2 separate regions of the Homo sapiens genome follow, and region 1 is linked to region 2. Evidence: promoter capture Hi-C in 16 types of primary human blood cells and fetal thymus (Javierre and others, 2016). All regions are on one chromosome and are shown on one strand. Each heading gives the region's core, a stretch centred on a gene start or on the middle of the fragment in contact. The rest is flanking DNA. Distances are from core to core; before and after follow the strand shown. Region 1 holds the start of SAMM50 (SAMM50 sorting and assembly machinery component). Region 2 holds the start of PARVG (parvin gamma).

What was found. Contacts are between HindIII fragments. The CHiCAGO score rates a contact against its expected background, and 5 or more counts as called.
Region 1: the fragment with the promoter of SAMM50 here is called in contact with the fragment with the promoter of PARVG in region 2 in 4 of 17 cell types (total B cells, monocytes, naive B cells and 1 more); the score reaches 9.3 in total B cells.

Annotation. Positions count from the first base shown.
Region 1 is chr22:43,950,592-43,957,460 of GRCh38, forward strand. It overlaps SAMM50 (SAMM50 sorting and assembly machinery component), which reads left to right and starts at 4,851. Exons shown (of 15, transcript NM_015380.5): 1 at 4,851-5,007. The coding sequence starts at 4,987. It also overlaps the pseudogene RPL35AP36. RefSeq lists silencers at 1,081-1,250, 4,669-4,943 and enhancers at 4,076-4,828, 4,496-4,545, 4,626-4,705, 4,829-5,580, 5,386-5,595. The HindIII fragment of the contact is 6,277 bases long and covers 4,002-6,869 here.
Region 2 is chr22:44,175,314-44,182,174 of GRCh38, forward strand. It overlaps PARVG (parvin gamma), which reads left to right and starts at 5,612. Exons shown (of 14, transcript NM_022141.7): 1 at 5,612-5,872; 2 at 6,429-6,604. RefSeq lists enhancers at 1-189, 5,599-6,329, 6,330-6,861 and silencers at 4,873-4,922, 6,093-6,222. The HindIII fragment of the contact is 15,489 bases long and covers 1-6,861 here.

The sequences.
Region 1 (6,869 bases), core at 3,601-6,100, 230 kb before region 2:
TACACGTCAGGCGGCAACATTCTTTTTTTTTTTTTTTTTTTTTGAGGCAGGGTCCCGCTCTGTCATCCAGGCTAGAGTACGGTGGTGCAATCATAGTTCACTGCAGCCTCAACTTCCTGGGGTCAAGCCATCTTCCCACCTCAGTCTCCCAAGTAGCTGGAACCACATGTGTGCACTACCACACCCAGCTAGTTTTTTTTTGTAGAGACAGGGCCTTGCCTTGTTGCCCAGGCTGGTCTCCAAGTCCTGGGCTCAAGTGATGCTCCTGCCTTGGCCTTCCAAAGTGCTAGGATTACAGGTGTGAGCTACCATGCCTGGTCCAACATTCTTCATTTGGTAAATGGCTAAACTTAGTGCAGAGTATGAGCCTGATTTTGTTTAAAAAAAAAATGTGTGTGGGTGTGTATATGTATCTTTGAGTGTATATAAAAAGACTGAAAGAGGGCTGGGCACGGTGGCTCATGCCTGTAATCCCAGCACTTTGGGAGGCTGAGGGAGGCGGATCACTTAAGTCAGGAGTTTGAGACCAGACTGGGTGAAACCCCATCTCTACTAAAAAATGCAAAAATTAGCTGGGCATGGTGGCGGGCACCTGTAATCCCAGCAACCAGGGAGGCTGAGGCAGGAGAATCACTTGAACCCAGGAGGTGGAGGTTGCAGTGACCCGAGATGCAGTGAGACTCCACCTCAAAAAAAAAAAAAAAAAAAAAAAAAAAGACTAAGGATATATATCAAAACCCTTATGGCAGACTGTTATTTGTAATTGTATTTTATTTGTCGTGCTTATATGTGTTGCCCAAGTTTCTATGGTGAACGGTATGCATCACTTTCAGCATGAGAAAATAACTCCTAATAAACGTGATTCTTAAAGGACTCTCCCTGTGTACATCCTTTCCAAGGAGCCCCGATGTACCCTGCTTCCCTCACAGCCAAGCTCCTCTAGGACAGTCCTCCCTAGGGGGTTACGGCCTTGCTCCTTTGATGGCCCTGCCACAGCCCAGGGGCTCTTTCCTGGGCACTGTGGACCAGACCCTCCTAGAATCCCTCTCCTTCCTCAACCCCAGACTCTCAGGCACCCCATCTCTATCCTGGACACCGAGCTTGTCACCAAGGCCCAGCTGCAGCTGCTGTGCTGAGTGTGCACAGCCACCTCTGGGAAGGCTGTGCTCCCCCTGAGGACCTGGGTCCTCAGTCTCTGACTCTGGGGGGATTCGGGGCCACCTACCCACCTTCTGGCTCTACTCAACACCAGCAGCCCCTCAACATCAAGCCCTCCAGCTCACAGCACCTCAGCTCTGCAGCTCCAAAGCCACCCCAGCCTGGAACTGGGGACTCAGGGAGACTCCCTCGCTCCAACTCCAGCTGGTCCCAGCACTGCCTCTGCTGTCATCTCTGGAATCTGGTCTCTTGTCCCCAGCCCACTGCTGCCAGGGTCAGCCCTGGTACTTTCTACCTGGGTTGCTGCAACAGCTTCCCTCTGGGGGCCGCCTGTTTTCAGCCTTGGGCCCATCTGCCCTCCACGTTGCTGCTGGGCAAGCTGAGGCCCCACCACACCCCCAGCACCTTCCTGTGCCTCCAGGCCTTCCCTGCCAGTACACCCCCTCCAGCCCCTGAAGCCCTGTCAGCAGCTCAGAGCCTTTCCCCGGAGTCACCCTGCTTCCCGAGGGGACCCACGTTGCTGCTGGGCAAGCTGAGGCCCCGCCACAACCCCAGCGCCTTCCTCTGCCTCCAGACTCCCTCCTAGCACACCCTCTCCAGCTCCTGCAGTCCCACCAGCAGCTCAGAGCCTCTTCCCTGAGTCACCCTGCTTCCCGAGGGGACCTCCACCCAGGGAATGCCCTTCCAGGCTCCTCTCACTGATTCACCTTCACTCCTCAGAGGTCAGGTGCTGGCTGATAGAGGCAATGAGGTGAGCCCCTCACCTCAGGGCGCTCAGCCCCTGGGAAGGTGATGAAAAAGGGCACCCCAAGGGGTGTCCCAAACTAATAGGTGGATGACTCCCGTGGGAAGATCCAGTCTCCCCTCCCCATGGCCAATTAAATTTGGGGTGTTTTTCTTTACTTTTTTGAGGCAAGGTCTTGCTTTGTTGCTCAGGCTGGAGTGCAGTGGCACAATCACAGCTCACTGCAGCCTTGACCTCCTGGGCTCAAGCAATCCTCCTCCTTCAGCTTCCTGAGGAGGTTTTAATTAAATAAATTAAAAGCTAATTAAAAACATTTTTTTTTTTTTTTGGTAGAGATGGGGTCTCACTGTTTTCCAGGCTGATCTTGAACTCCTGGACTCAAGCAATCCTCTTGCTTCAGCCTCTGGAGTAGCTGGGACTACAGGTGCTTGCTACTATGCCCAGCTATTTTTTTTATTTTTTATTTTTATTTTGTAGTGATGGGGTGTGTTTCCTAGGCTGATCTTGAACTCCTGGGCTCAAGCAATCCTCCTGCCTCGGCCTCCCAAAGTGCTGAGATTATAGGTATGAGCCATTGCACTCAGCCTGGATTGTATTAAGGAAACTAGCTTAGTCACTAAACTGCACTTCTACTTCTGATTGGACAAGATTGGCACTTTGTAAACCAGGTTTTCTGGGATGCTGGTTTCCTTGAAGATGTTTCTAGCTGGTATTATCATATAGGATAGGCTGAGTTATGCTGCATTAACAAGCAAAACCCAAAAGGTTTATTTCTCATTCGTGCTGTATGTCCAGCAAATGTGGCTGGGCTTCATTTTAAGTCGTCCTCACTCCCAGACCTAGCCTGTAGGTGCCCCACCATTGGGGGATCGCTGATTGCCATGGCATGGTTAGAGAAATATGGTTCTTAAAGGTTCTCATCCAGAGTGGCACATCTCTCTTCTGCTCACAATGTGTTGACCAAAGCAAGTCACATGGATGGGAGCAGGGAGATGCAATCCTCTCTTGTGCCCAAAAGAGGAGCACAAGAAATACTGTTGAATAGCATTGCCAGAGGCCACAGAAAAATCTCCAAAACCAAAAATCTCTATGACCCAATAAATTCAAGAAATACTGGGTTAAAGAGAAGGAAACCAGTATATGCACTGTGAGACTTCTCAGTCTTTATTATATACATTGTAACCATCACAGACAGCCTTTAATATATACATCTTAACTATCACAGACAGCCTTCAGTATATTATATACATTATAACCATCACAGACAGCCTTCAATATATTATATACATTATAACCATCACAGACAGCCTTTAATATATACATTATAACTATCACAGCCTTTAATATATTATGTACATTGTAACTATCACAGCCTTTAATATATTATATACATTGTAACTACCACCGCCTTTAATATAGTATACCCATTGTAACTATCACAGCCTTTAATATACACATTGTTAACTACCACAGACAGCCTTTAATATATTATATACATTGTAACTATCACAGATAGCCTTTAATATATACATTGTAACTATCGCAGACAGCCCTTTGTTTGAGGGTAAAGCATGTGACTTTGTTTTCCTCCTGTTCCCTCTGCCATCCTCCAGGGCCTCACACACAATAGGCTCTCAAATATTGCAACCATCTTGCACTCTGCAGGGCAACCTCATGGCTTATCCTTTACAAGTGGCATACTCAGAAGAATAACGAGGAAGAAAGTGTAAGAAAAGAGGGCTGTTTGGGCAAAGAAAATCTGGTTGATTCGATGTTTACAGAGTGCCAGGCCCCATGCTTGATCTCATGAGGTCCTCAGACCTTATGCCTTAGGCTATCATTTCCATTTTACAGATAAGGAATTGAGGCTCAGGGAACTGAGAGTGAGGGAAGGGCAGGGGCCTGGCTGGTGCTGGGTTCTGTCTCTTTCCAGGCAAGAAGGGACATGTGGACTTGAATATTTAGCTCAGGGATGTTGGAGGCCTAGGGTGCTGCTATTTAAATGGAAAGGGTGTCAGGGTTTCTGGGAGGGAGTAAGGGGACAGAAGAAAAGATGCTTCTGTTATCAGAAGGGAGTGGCAACGTGACAGGATACTGAAGCTTCCTCTTTTCTTATTCTGTCTCGTTTCTTTCAATATACTTATCACAATGTGTGGCTGATATTTATTATGCCTTTTTCTTTTCTATTCTCTTTTCTTTTTTGGGGCAGGGGAGCTGTTTTGCCACCAAAACCTAAGCCCATGGCCGTCTTCTTCACCGATATGACTGGTTCTCATGCAAGCACCTAGATGGCCCTCGCCCATAATTACTGGCTGCAGTTGAGTGAATAGCGGTCATTATCTAGCGCCCACCGTGTGCCCGGCCCGGTGCCGGGAGCTTTGCTTTCCGTCTCTCACATTAGGCCCTTTTAATCCAACCCCCAAGAAGGAGACACGACCATCGTCTTCATTTTGACGATTTTGAGTGGGGGTTCCAATGACTTGAACGAAAGGAGCCAGGGCACCAATCCGGGTTTGTGTAGCAGATGCCGGTGAGACCCGACTACTGCAGCTCGGGGGTGGCCGGACCCGGGGTCTCCCCGCTGAGTCTCGGGGCTTCACCGGCGCGTGGGCACAAGCACAGCACCCTCGGGTCGGGGGTGCTAGGAGGGCTAAGAGCAGCAGGACTTGAGTGACACCCAACAGCTGGTCTGATCTCTTTCAGGCGCCAACGCCAGACGCCAGCCTCCCAGCGGACCCTCTCGCAGACCCACCTTCACCCCACGCGCCCTCCCCACACAGTCCACGCGCCAGCAGCTTCGCGGATGTCAGTGAACGCTCTTCGCTTGCGCAGTCAGAACGTCCTCCGCGGCCGTGTGAACATCCGGGTCACAGGCGCATAAGGACCAATGAGCGAAGGCATCGCGAGCCAGGGGGCGCGGAGAAGGCGGGGAATCATGGCCGCCCCCAGTGTTCCGCGTCCGGGGGTTTGTGGGAGTTGCCTTGACCTGCAGCTCCGCCACCGCGGACCCGCCTTCTGCCCTCAGCAGCAGACGCTCTGTCCCGCCCGGGCAGCTCTGCGAGGCAGCGGCTGGAGAGGGAACCATGGGGACTGTGCACGCCCGGGTAAGAGGCCCAGCGACCCGCGGGCTGCGAGGCCTCTGGGCCAGCAGGGCAGACGGGCGCCGCGGGGAGACGCTCTCGTGGCTGCGCCCAGGGTTCACCGGGAGAGAGGGTGCCAAGGGTGCCGGGCTGGGTGGAGGAGGCCGAAAAGAGGTCGCCTCGGGCCAGCGAGTCTTGCAGACCTTCGAGCAGGAACCTGATAGGAGGGACGAGACTTGGCTAAAGGTCACTCGGCGAGTCCGTGGCCCAAAGGACTTGCCAACTTTCTGTGATGTCTTAGACCGCAGTGAATGTGCTCTTTCTTTGCATGATTTTAAGTTTTCTCTCTTTACTGGTCACTTCCAGCCTTTCCCCGCTCAGCCGCTGCTGGAGCCATTGTAGGCTCCTAGAGCAACAAGAATCCTTTGAAGTCTTCTAACTCAAACCTATCTAGGGGTCCTCTTTTCTCCTGTCTACCGTGCAAAAGACGGAACCGCTCTCTGCCTTACTTCCTGTTTTAAAGTGGAGGTAGTAATAGTACCTACCTCGCCTGGCTTAAAAGAGAATTAAAAGACAATGCATGTGAATACTTGGGTGCCTGGCGCCTGACTAACTGTACTGGTTGCCAAACTCCTCTCGTTTATCCTAATCTTAAATAAGGGCCAGATAATGAGTTACTTCTCCAAGGTCACATAGTTACTGGTTCCAAATGGCCTAAAACCTCAGATTTCCTGAGTCTCAGCCCCAACACTACTTTTCTACTGCAACTTTGATTGCTTCACTTGACCTGCATAGACGTTTTCAGTAGTTCCCCATTAACTTCCAAAAAAATTTAGCACAGAAGTCGCAGCCTGACATCGATAATTGGACTTAACTTCCCTTTATATGTCTTTCATTCAGATCAAACACCGTTTCTCTTCTGACATCTCTTTGTGTAACTGTAATAGGTCTGTTGCTCAGTGTGCTCGATAAGTCAATACACTCAGACAGTGGGTTGCAGCAGAGAAAGAGTTTCAGTTGCAGGGCCGCTGAACGAGGAGATGGGAAAAGAGAGGAAACCTCAAATCCATCTCCTTCAGGAGTTTGGACCTCATGTTTTTGCTGAAGTGTGGAGATCCTTGATTGGTGGAAGAGTGAAGGGTGAAGTTATGGGACAGGGAGATGAGGAAACTTCTCATGCTGATTCCGTTCCTCTGTTGCGGGGAGGAGTCTTCAAACTGGTTGGCAGCATCAGTTTTGCTGGAATTCGAGATCTGAAAAACATCTAAAGCAACTCTTAAGCAAAAGCCTTATGATTCTAATTTTAGAAATCCTATCTGTAAAATCAATGGGGATGCAAATAGTATCTGTGACTTTTGGTTACTAGCAAGTAGGTCAGAGTGCAACCTGAGCTCTTCCTGCCATCTTGGCTCCTGTGGCGGCCTGCCGGGAGCAGGACTTCTGAAAGGAAATATGTCTGGAAGGCTGTGGTCCAAGGCCATTTTTGCTGGCTATAAGTGGAGTCTCCGGAACCAAAGGGAGCACACAGCTCTTCTTAAAATTGAAGGTGTTTATGCCCGAGATGAAACAGAATTCTATTTGGGCTCATGTATACAAAGCAAAGAACAACATAGTGACTCCTGGCGGCAAATCAAACAAAGCCAGAGTAATCTGGGGAAAGGTAACTCGGGCCCACAGAAACAATGGCATGATTCGTGCCAAATTCTGAAGCAATCTTCCTGCTAAGGCTGTTGGACACAGAATCCGAGTAATGCTGTACCCCTCAAGGATTTAAACTAATGAAAAGTCAATAAATCAATGTGGATTTGTGCTCTTGAAAAAAAAAAGGCAACTTGATTAATGGTTAATTGTAACTACATTTCTTTTGAGATGGAGTCTCACTGTGT
Region 2 (6,861 bases), core at 4,362-6,861:
CCACTTGCCCTCAGATGTGACAGAACTGGCAGAATCTGAGAATCTCGAGAAGGAAGGGACCTTCTGAGGTCACCTCTGTTCATCCTTACCCAGGCAGGAATCCCCGGCCACCGCAGGGACGGGCATCTCTGTTCCTTCCGCAAGGACAGTGCCCTGGGGTTGGGCAGCTCAGAATTAGTGAGGTTTTCCGTGGAAACCCACTCTTTGGGGTTTAAATTTGATTTAATACACCATCATCATCTTCACCAGGGTGAGGCTTTGCCCTGGGGCAGGGGGTGGGGAATCCCTGTGTCCAACACAGTAGGACCTGGAGCATTCATTGGGTCAGTGAGTAGTGGGAGCCTGCTGTGTGCCGCTGAGGCGTTGGGTGTGGGGGGGTGGGGGTGTGCTAGGGCACAGGAACCAGGAGAGAGTGGAGTGGCAGGTGGACAACACAGTGAGGCCGATGAAGAAATGCAGCTGGGGGCAGGTCTGGGACGAAGATGGAGCAGAGGGCTGCATCTGGGCATAGAGGCGGGTAAGGAGGTCTCTGACACCAGGGAAATGGGGCAAAGGCCACATATTCTTCCAGTCCCCAGCCCCTCGGATTTAGGTGGCCATGTGGCTGGTCCTAACAGCCGGGACATGGTCACACCGGACAGCTTTTAGGAAAGACTGTCACCTTAAAGTATGCAACACCTTTGTGGATGTTTGGTGTGTTTTCGAAACATCCACACAGGGTTCTGATGTTCTCGATGGCTTTGGAATGTAGTGCTAGATTTCCTCCCACAATCTCATTCTTAAAATGTATTGCCAAGGTGAGCCTGAAACACTGTGCCGGAAAGCAGGGAAGCACAGTTGTCCCTGGTATCCTCTGTGGAGTGAATCCGGGACCCTGGAGGATACCAAAATCTGAAGATGCTCAAGTCCCTGATATCAAACTGCACAGTATTTGCATATAACCTACGCACATCCTCCTGCATACTTTAAACCAGCTCTAAATTACTTATGATACCTAATACAATGTAAATGCTATGTAAATAGTTGTTACACTGTATCACTTAGGGAATAATGACGGAGAAAAATTCTGTATGTGTCTGGTACAGATGCAATTTTTTCTTGATATTTTTAATTCGTGGTTGGTTAAATCCATGAATGTGCAACCAAGGATATGGAGGGCCAACTGTACTCAAGGAATGATGGGGACATGTCAAAAGGACAGAGGCACAAACAGCGTCCACATTTTGGATACTTCAAGCATCTGAAGGAGCAATGTGGAGTATAACACATTGGATTTTTTTTTTTTAATTCGTGCACTTAGAGTGATATTAAACTAGGATGAGAGCAAAGGCTTTTTTTTTTCTTTTAACATTTTACTTTTATATAGTTTCAAACCCGCAGAAAAGTTGCAGGAATACTACAAAGAGTTCCTATGTGTATTAATCCATTCTCATGCTGCTAAAAGAGACATACCCAAGACTGGGTAATTTTAAAAGGAAAAAGGTTTAGTGGACTCACCGTTCCACATGGCTGGAGAGGCCTCACAATGATGGTGGAAGGCGAAGGAGGAGCAAAGGCATATCTTACATGGCGGCAGGCAAAAGAGTGTGTTTAGGTGAACTGTCCTTTATAAAACCAACCAGTCTCATGAGACTTATTCACCATCATGAGAACAGCATGGAAAAACCCGTCCCCATGATTCAGTTACCTCCCACCAGGTCCCTCTCATGACACGTGGGGATTATGGGAGCTACAATTCAAGATGAGATTTGGGTGGGGACATAGCCAAACCATATCACTATGTTTACCTGGAGACTCATGAATGTTAACATTTTTACTTTATCCTCTTCACTCTCTTTCTGTCCCTGCCTATCTGCCTCTCTCGATATAATAATAATGATATATATTTCTTTAGACGCACACATTTACCTGGTGATATATATATTTTCTGAATCTTTGAGGGTAAGTTGCATGCATTATATCCTCTTCACCTCTAAATACATCAGTGTAGCTTCCTAAAAGTGAAGACATTCTCTTCCATAATCTCAGTATGTGTCATAATCAGGAAATAACATTGATACAATGGCATTGTCTAATCTACAAACCTTAATTGTGTTTTTTTCCAATTGTCTCAATGATGTCCTTTATGCCAAAATAAGAGGCAGGACAAGGCATTGAATGAGTTGTCCCATCTCTCCAGCCTCCTGTAGTCTGGAGTGGCCCTTCAGTCTTTCCTTATGTTTCATAGCCTTGATTCTTTGGAGAATCCAAGCCAGTTATGTTCCAGAATGTCTTGCAGCTTGGATTGATCTAGTATTTTCCTCGTTATTAGATCCAGGTTATGCGTTTTCGGTAGAAGTGATGTGTTCCTCTCAGCGCATCATTACCAGGAGACATGTCATGTTGATTGTTTTACTTTCTTATGATGTTAATTTTGATTACTTAGCATGTGAGCACACGTCTGTGGTCCCAGTTACCCAGGAGGATCACTTAAGCCCAGGAGTTCAAAGCCGCAGTGAGCCGTGATCACACCACTGCACTCCAGTCTGACAGAGTGCACTGTTTCTATTTTTAAAAAATATATATTACTTAGTTAATATAGTGTTTATCAAATTTGTACACTAAAAAATGTAACTCTTCTTTGTAATCGATCAATATTTATGAGGAAAGAATTTTCACTTTTGGAGTTACCTTTCCATCAGGAATAACTAGAAGCCTCCACAAAACACAGGAAACAGTTACTTCAGACATTGGACATGCCTTTGCTCCCCCTTCACCTTCCACCATGACTGTGAGGCCTTCCCAGCCATGGTGGAACTGTGAGTCCATTAAACTGTCTTTCTTTATAAATTACCCAGTCTTGGGTATGTCTGTTTTAGCAGCATGGAAATGGACTAATACACATAGGAACTCTTTGTACTTTCCTGCAGCTTTTCTGTGAGTTTGAAACTATATAAAAGTAAAATGTTAAGAGGCGAGTCAGATCTGTGATCCCCAAGAAAAGGGTGGCAAGTGAGGTGAGCCCTACCCTGGTCTTGGCTTTCTGCCTGGACATAATTCCTGGACTGTGCTGTAGTGAGGGGGACCCAGACAGAGCCAGGTCTCACTGATTTAAGGAGACAAAGATCAGAGCTTGCAGAGATTACGCTTATTAAAAACAGACATCAAAAGAATATTTCTGCCAGAAAAATTCCAACACTTCTTAAAGAAATGCAACAAAATTCAGCACGCGACGACATAAAAATTTAATGTCTAGCATTCAATAAAACATTATTATAAAGAAGCAGGAAACTGTGACCCACAATCGGGAGAAAAATCAGTCCACAGAAGCAGACCAGGAAATGACAGAAGTGATAGATTCTACAGGACAACTGACCTGGATGTTTAAAAAATGTTAGTGTCGTGAAAGATTGTTCTAGATTACAGGGCTCTAAAGAGACATGAAAACCAAATGCAATCACATGTGCTGTGTGATGCCTGAATGGATCTTGGATTAAAAAAAATACAGCTGTAATAGACATTTTTTGAAGCCTTGGTGAAGTTTGAATGTGGATGAGATATTAGAAAACCTTCTATCAATGCTAATTTTCTTAGGTATCATAATGGTACTGTGTTATGCAGGAGAATGTTTTTAGGAGAAACATTCTGAAGTATTTAGAGATATCCCTAAAGTGATGTGATCCCTGCAATTTATTTATTTTTTATTAATTTTTAAAAATTTTAGTTGTGGTTAAAAATACACGTAACATAAAATGTACTGTCTTAACTATTTTTAAGTATACAGTTCAGTAGTGTTTGGCATATTTGCACAGGTATATTTCACACCGTGTCTCTGAAAAAAAAAAAGGCTGGAATAATTCCCTTCTATCCATGCCTTTCTCTTAATTGGGGTTTGGGGGTGCTTGGACTTATCTCCATGTTACTCTTCCAATTCTTAGAGTCCCTCTCTTCCCCTAAACAATGCTCTACACACAAGAGGCTTTGTGAGTTGTGGATTTAGTCTGTTGTAACTCCACACCATACAGGATTAGATTTCGCATCTGATTCTTACATCAGCCCTGCAGCCCCAAGAGATGAGAGATAGCTTTGAGGGCTATCAGAGAACTCCCTGTATTCTGCACATACCTTGAGCTGAGAATGTAAAGCCCTGGGACTGTCCTTTTCTTGCTTTAAACTCTTTGGTGTGATGATAACAAGCTCACCCCACAGTCCTTAGATAACCTGTGCTCGTATTGCGTATGGAAGCCACAACTCTGCCAAAGCCACAATTTAATAGGTACTTCGTTCTGAGTGATGACAGGTAATTATTTTGCCATCACAGGCTACGATCTATTAGAACTCCATTCTCTAACAGTTACTAGGTCCCCACTGCCTTTAAATCAACCAGAACAAGTAACCAATCCCAGTTCCCATCCTGGAGGTCGTGTTGCCTGCAATTGTTTCTGGTAACAAATCCGAAGTTAATTGGGATTCAGTTGCCGATGATTAGAGTCTCTTCAGTTGTTTGGAGGAGAAAGGAATCTAACATAGGAAGCTGTGTGATTCTCAAGCTGTTGGAAGGCTGGAGGCAGCGCCTCCAGCAAGGACTCTTGGAAGAATACTGCAGAGCTGGCTCCTGAAGGAAGCTGCCGAGTCAGGCTGGCCCTAGAAGCATGCTTTCTGGGTTGAATGCTTTAGGTTCACCTCTGCAGATCCACTCCCCACCATTTTCTCTCCTCACATCTATGGGCCGCAGCAGGGGACTTCTTTTCTCTGGCTTCTGGCTGGATGTGGGCAGGGGAGGCCCTGGCAGGAGGGAGGAGAGTGAGGCTTGGTCATTGATTCCTCCAGCTGTGCCCTTCTGCTGGTTCACCATGAGCTGGCTGTGTCCCTCTACCAAAGGCCACAGCTCCTATCCCGAGGCCCCTCTTAGAGCTTCAGTGATTCTGTTCCTGGGCTCTGCCACCCACTCCCTCCTTCACCCTCTAGGTTTTGAAGAAGTAACAGCTCCCCATGTTGCTAGCCTGGGGTGTAGCACTGTCTCTTCTGGGTTCCTTTAACCCTGCCCCAGCTGTCCCTTTATTAAACAGTCTTCAGTTAGCACATGGGAATATACCGTCTCTTTGCTGCTGGGACTGTGACTGCTGCTACATCTATGTGGCTGTGATCCAGAGTCAGAAGCCACCACCAGAACCACTGTGTCCAGAGCTGGGCTGAGCCTGCTACACACGCCCCAGCAAAATAGGTCCTGCACGGTGGCTTCTCTCCCCACCTGTTACAAGCCCCAGTCTAGCACGGGCACTTCAGAATGGCAGGGACTGACTCATGTGCCTCAGTGTCTTCCTCTGTAATATGGGGGTGATGATTGTACCTACCTCACAAGGAAGTTTCCAGTAAAATGAAAGCCCTTAAAATTATGTTTGTTTCATCACCAATGACTCCATAAATATTAGCAACAATACCAGTACTAAGTTTTGTCATTTTTTATTAACTTCTTGTAAACGACCCTACTTTCCTGCTCTCACACACTCCTTACACCTGCATCCCACCTGATTTAGCCACTTTCTGCCTAACCTGTCAGAAAGGGTAGATAGCTTCCCAGTCACCTGTTGCTAGGGAAACTCACCATTTCAGCCCGGATGGTGAAGATTCCAGCTTGAGAGACCAGCTCGGGTCTGAAGTGTTTCTCTATCTACTGTGCTGAGATCTCTCCTTCTCGAACCCTGCTATGCCTTTGCATACGCTGTTTTCTCCACCTGCCACGTTCTCACCCCTTCTTCTTCCACTGCAAACTCCTATGCAGCCGTCAAGGCCCCATTCTCCTCTGGAAAGCCTTCCCGATCCCCTTGGCAACAACCACCACCAATATTTATTCACTGAGCCCACTTTGTGCCAAGCATTGTTCTAGACACGGGTATGTAACCGCGATTGAGAGAGACAGACCACGCACAGCCTGGATTTTATTTTAAGAGCTATTGGGTGCCGTTGGTGGGTTTGAGTGAGTGGGGTCAGGAAGTGACTCACTCCTCCGAGGGCTTGTGGGAGCCTCAGCTCAGGGGCGGGCAGGGGGCGTGGGGAAGTCTGCAGCCGAGAGTCCAGGTAGGAGTCTCCTGCGTGGTCCCGGGAGAGGAAGGGGCCTGGCCCGGGGCGGGGTGTGGAGGTGGGAGGACGGCGGTGCGGGATGGAGGGTGGAGGCCAGGCTGACAGGGTGCTGGTGGTGGGTTGCGGGGGTCGACCCCAGGCTCTGGCCTATGTAGCTGCCATTTTGGAGGTGAACAGCCTGCGGGGAAACTGGCATGGTTTGGGGAAGGCGGGGAGAGGGGGAGAAATGAAAGCATTGAGTTTAAGTGGCCTGCAGAACCCCGGGGGCCCAGGCGGCACGGCGGGCGCTGGGGCTCCGGGCAGAGCTTTCTGGAGGTTTGTGGCAGCTTCACTTTCACGGCATCCACCCCCCTCGGGCCCTGCCGCAGAGAGGAGGAAGCTCCTGCCGGCTGAGCGGGCCTGGAGGAAGTGAGCAGCGGGGCTCCTGCCTCCCGGCCTGGTCCCCGAAGACCCCAGAAGAACCCGGAACTTGCTTCCATTCGGAATCCAGGGACCACCCTTTGCACTCAGTAGGCCTTTGTTTTCCTGCGTGGAAAGCGGTTGGGTGAGTTCTGGCATCGGGGCCACCATACTTGAGTGTTGGGGGTCACGGAGGGAGGGGCCCAGACACCACCTGGGAAGGATCCCAGAGTGCAGTCCCAGCCCAGGCCACCCGGGGAAGGGAGTCGGTAAAGTGGGACCTTGAGTCCCCACGGCCCCTCCGGCTGCCCCTGCTCAGAGGCTGCTCGGCGTCCTCCCTCCCTGTTCTACTGAGGAGTTGCCGCCTCTGAACTTCAGCCAACCCCTCCGTCTCCAGGTGAA